2 separate regions of the Homo sapiens genome follow, and region 1 is linked to region 2. Evidence: promoter capture Hi-C in human tissues and cell types (Jung and others, 2019). All regions are on one chromosome and are shown on one strand. Each heading gives the region's core, a stretch centred on a gene start or on the middle of the fragment in contact. The rest is flanking DNA. Distances are from core to core; before and after follow the strand shown.

What was found. Contacts are between HindIII fragments. The study calls those that stand out against the background at their distance.
Region 1: a fragment that was not itself captured here is called in contact with the fragment with the promoter of GRB14 in region 2 in 1 of the 25 tissues and cell types used here (hippocampus).

The regions. Positions count from the first base shown.
Region 1 is chr2:164,655,376-164,658,075 of GRCh38, reverse strand. It overlaps a transcript of COBLL1 not described here. Among named protein-coding and RNA genes, the nearest start is that of SNORA70F, 31 kb to the left of the region's middle. The HindIII fragment of the contact is 5,343 bases long and covers 1-2,700 here.
Region 2 is chr2:164,620,098-164,622,797 of GRCh38, reverse strand. It overlaps GRB14 (growth factor receptor bound protein 14), which reads left to right and starts at 1,316. Exons shown (of 14, transcript NM_004490.3): 1 at 1,316-1,679. The coding sequence starts at 1,489. The HindIII fragment of the contact is 12,551 bases long and covers 1-2,700 here.

The DNA of each region.
Region 1 (2,700 bases), core at 153-2,652, 35 kb before region 2:
AGAAATAGCCAATCACCTGTTGCCTGAGAGCACAGCGGGAGGGACAATGATCGGGATATAAACCCAGGCATTCAAGCCGGCAACAGCAACCCCCTTTGGGTCCCCTCCCTTTGTATGGGAGCTCTGTTTTCACTCTACTTCACTCTATCAAATCTTGCAACTGCAAAAAAAAAAAATGGATCATTTGTAAAGACCGTAGCCATATTACCATTGGTAAGAACTCCATGTTGTTGAAACCATGAATAACCTTCATTCCTTCCATGATGAACATGTGGTTCTTGAGTCCACTGTAATTTTCTGAGAAAGAAGGGTGACCTATGTCTACTGAGTGGGTCACCTTATTCACACTAGAGGCTTTGTGGTGAATATAACTTTCCAAGAAATATATTCTCGTTCTGGGCTCACTATAAAGGGTCATACCCCTTCAGCATACCCTTTCCCTAAACTTCCTCCACAATGCTCCGAGTTCACTATTTTCAAGTGCCTGGCTGTCTAACCAGTGCCTTAACAGCTGAATTGGTGTAGGTTCCTGTTCTAGTTATTGTTGTTGCATAAAAAATTAACCCACAGCTTTGTGTTTTAAAACAATCACTTTATTCTAATCATGGATTCTGTGGGTAAGGAATTGGAGTGGGAGACAATTTATCTTTGCTCCATGATGTCTGTGACCTCAGTTAGGAAGTCTCGAAGCCTGGGGATGACTCAATGACTGTGGGCTGGAAGCATCTGAAAGCTTGTTCATTCACATATCTAGTACCTAAACTGGTCTGACTCAAAGACTAGGACTGGTGACTGGGGCATCTACACGCAGCCTGTCTTGGCAACCACACAGCATGTGACAACTACAGGGTAGTAGGATTTGTTCCAGGTGACCACAGGAAATAATTTAATTAGCTGTTTCACTTTTCCATGCTAGGATGAGGCAGATCTAAATTCCATCCCTAAAATGATTAGGATTTAAAATTCCTTCAGCCTCAACAAGGTCAGATACAAACCCTAGATTCTGCCCATTTCACTGAGGCTCTGTGCTGTAACTAGCGACTGGTAACAATTTCTGTTTAAATGAGGGTCTTTTGCTGCACAACAAAAACAGACTCTGGCTTTACTAACCAGAAAAGAACTACACTGGAAGAATATAGGTTGGCTCAGACAGTCCATAGGAAGGCTAAATAACCACGCTCAGGAAATGGGCCTTAGAGAGTGGGAAGAGAAAATGTATCTAAACTTATATCTCAGTAACAGCTTGATAGGACATTGTCACTAGCAGTGCCACCACTAGGTCCTCACCATTGCTGCTGGCATGAACAGCTACCACTACTATGACTACTTGACCTAGTCAAGTTTTACTGCCTCCTCCAGAACAACCTCTAACTATCCCAATATGTCACTTACTACAGATCCAACATTCCTGCATTGAATATCCTGTTGGTTTACTAAGAGACATGCCTATATCTTAGTTCATGGGGTGAGAAGAGAGGTTAAATGTTCTTTCCCATTCCCTAGAGGGAAGTGGGGTTTTTGCCCCACCACATTTACACAACAAAATTGCTCCCAAGTAGAAAAGGGGCTTAGATTATATGTAGACAAAAATAAAGCAAATACCCACTGAACATATTAATCTCATTATTCAATAATTAAAATGATTGAATGGGTGAATTAAGAGTGAATTAGTTCATATAATTGCTTTAACTCTTTTCATTTATAAAATAAGGGTTTGACCTATGATCTCTGATTTTTATTATAACTTTAAATTCTTTTTTAAAAATTATTGTCAGCCGGACATGGTGGCTCATACCTAAAATCCCAGCATTTTGGAAGGCTGAAGTGAGAGGATCACTTGAGACCAGGAGTTCGAGACCAACCTGGGCAACAGGGAGACACTGTTCCTACAATAAATAAATAAATAAATATTTAAAAATTAGCCAGGCATGGTGGTGCATGCCTGCGGTCCTAGCTACTCAGGAGGCTGAGGTGGGAGGATCACTTGAGCTTGGGCTGTCAAGGCTGCAGTGAGCCATTACTGGGCCATTGCACTCCATCCTGGGCAACAGAGCAAGACTCTGTCTTAAAAAAAAGAAAAAAAAATATTGTCAGTATTATTTGCAGAGTCTCATCCACATGGTGGAGCCATATGCCCAGGACTTGGCAGTACCCACTGCACGAATATCATGAAACTCCTAATGAACCAAGTGGGCTAACATTTTGATGTTCCAATGACTTGTTTTGTGTGTGTGTATAAAACAGGTGTAACTAAAGATTGTTGAACAAAGTTGGTTAAATGTAGTGCTTCTGCATCTAATTTTCCATTGTGTGAGCAGAAATGTGAGAATTTTTTTTTTACATCATCTCATTTTGCTTTCTGAACTACAGCACAGATTGATTGTCTAGAGAGAGTGTATAAACTAGCAGACAGCAAACTCAGGAAACACCTTTCCCAAGGATGTAGGTTCTTGGTACAGAAACCCTTTCATGAGAGACTAGGTTCCAAGGTTTACTATGAGGAAATTTGGGAACTTTCTGTTTAATTCACCTCCTCTGAGTCATTCCTTCAGTAGCCTAGATCTCACCTCTGAGAATGATTCAGCCTTTTTAAGCCAATACAGAATCTTTTAAGCCAATACAGAATCTTTTCTCCCTCCTTTGGGAAAGATTGCAAATATTCTTGGAGCAAAAGGTGATGACACTCCAGAACTGGCTGGC
Region 2 (2,700 bases), core at 67-2,566:
CCAGGTCACTTCTGGGCCTTAATTTTGACATTAGGAAAATAAAGAACTTGGATTCCCTGAACTGTGACTCAAGGATTTTCTGTCTTCACGGAGTGCCCCAGGTTTCCTCACAGGTTGGGAATTAGTGACCCCTGGGTTCTCCAGTGGTCGGTGCCTCGGTGGGAGAGAATGCACTGAGATGGGGGAGGGGAGCTGCTGCTTTCTTCTGGAGGCAGTGTTTACCTTTCCCTGGGCAGAGGTTGTTGAAATTAAGAAAACCTGGTAAAGCAGATGCCAGGGACAGATATTACCTAATTTGGTCAAAGAACAAAGACCCTGTGAAACATTTGGAAATCCTCAACGGTGCATAGGGACGGGCACACTTACTGGAAGAGCAGAAACAGGATCACCCAGCATTTCAGAGTAGGGTTGCTGCATCTCAGAGGGTGAGCATAATAATGTCATTACTATTTCGAACAGTCTGGGTTTTTGAGAAGGAAGCTTCTGGGTTGGAATATTGACTCCACCAGCTACTAGTGCTATGTTACTAGTGCAAGGTACTCGATGGCTTTGAGCCCCAGTTTCCTTTTGTGTAAAATGAGATAAACATCTAATTTATGGAGCTGTTGAGAGGATGGAATAGGTAGCGTAAGGCAACCTGGAATTCATTAATGTAAGCTTCTCTCATTACCATAAAACTAATAGTCTTTCTAATTCCAGACACCTTCAGGTTTACTCATGCTTTACTGAGAATTCTCAAAATCTCAGTAGTTTTCTATAATGATTGGACTCCTTGCTCCCTATCAACCCCCCAATCTTTGGCTGCGGAGTGGATGGAAGAAGAGGCACGTGGGGAAGGACTGGGGCAAACCCTCTGGTGTCCTGGCCTCCTGGCCCGGTGGGGACTGTCATGGCGGCCCAGCAACAGCTTAGGTGATCTCAGATGGCAGAGCAGAAAGAATGCAAGGGTATGAGGGTCAGGGCTGCGCGGACCCCTATCCCGCCTGCGGTCCTCCCGGCAAGCCCAGCGGGAGCGCCCGCTCGGCTGGGTCCCCGCCTCCAGCGGCGCCGGGGCCGCCCAGACCCTGGGCTCAGCCTCGCGCCCCGGTGCCCACCTGAGGAGGCAGCGGTCCCGGCCTCGCGTCCCGGATGGGACGGCGCGGGAGCAATGCCAGTGGCCCCGAGCGCCCCGGGCCACGCGCGGGGCCGGCCAGCCGCTCTCGCGCCCTCCCCGCCCCCTCCGCGCCTTGCCTCGCCGCCCGCGGCCCCCACCCACCGGCCGCTCCTCCCCTCTCCCCACCCTCCTCCTCCGCCCCCTCCCCTCCCCCGCCGCCTCGCAGATAGCTCGGCCGCGCGTCTCAGCCGCCGGGGCCCCGAGCGCAGGCGGCGAGGCCACCACACCTGCAGAGCGCTCGGGCTGCCTAGCCGGCACCTCGCCTCCCGCCGCGCAAACCCCTTCTCCCCACGCGCCGAGTCTCCCATGACGCCCGAGCCCCCCGGCCGGCGACAATGACCACTTCCCTGCAAGATGGGCAGAGCGCCGCGAGCAGGGCGGCTGCCCGGGATTCGCCGCTGGCCGCCCAGGTGTGTGGCGCTGCCCAGGGGAGGGGCGACGCCCACGACCTGGCGCCGGCCCCCTGGCTGCACGCGCGAGCGCTCCTGCCCCTTCCGGACGGGACCCGCGGCTGTGCTGCAGACAGGTAGGCAACCCTGGAGGGCGCGGGGGAGTGTCCTGGCTGGGCAGCCGGCGAGGGGGTGAGGAGGCGGTCCTAGGGGGTGAGCCATGTGCCCAGAGCTGGGCCAAGTTTGTAAAAGTCTCTGAAGACAATCCCCTTTGAGCTGGCTCCTACCGGATCAGCAGGACATTGCGATCTCACAGCGCCTTATAAATAGCATCACCGTTTCATTGAGAGCTCTCATCTCTCTCGCCTCTGCCCATCGGTGGTGAAACTAGGAGCTCAGGCTGCAGGCTGATCACCTTCTGTTCCTTCGTGGCCATGCATTTTCACAAAGTAAACTCTATTTTATTTTATATATTTTAAAAAAATCGTAGCATAAATGTATTCACCTCCCACATAGAGTCTTACAGCGACCCTGTAGAAGCAAAGCATGGATTGACATTCGAGCAGTCTTGCTGTTCGGCAGGAAAGAATAGAGGCTTTAAAGGGTTTCCCAATCTCCATAGCATTCAGCACTAAGTGCCTTTAGAGTTGCACATACTTTCGGAAAGAAAAAGGGTTACAGCAATACAAAAATCTATAGTCCTTTATATTCATACATTTAAATGTTACTTTTTTTTTCCTGATTTTCAAAGCGCTCCAACTTCAGTGAAGTTAAAATTACTCTCCAGTGGACTATAGTACATTTATACTAGCAAGTTCTATTAACTTACCGCCTCAAAACACTGCCTTGCTGTTTAATATCTATAAGCGCTTGAAAAATCAACAGACTGTGTGTGGGCAACATTGTGAATGAAATTTGAAGTGAGATGAACCACAGCTATAATTAATAAATCATAACTTCCAAAAGTGATTAGTAAAATATCATAAGGATGAATGCACTAAATGCAACTTAGAGACTGTCAATATCATGGATGCATAACAATGTATGACTTCTCAGGTGATGTTTGGATTAGTAATTGTATAGTCTATTTTTCTGTTTCAGGAAAATTATCAAAAGTGATGGAGTTTCTATGCCTGGTGATTTAAAGGCAAGAGAGAG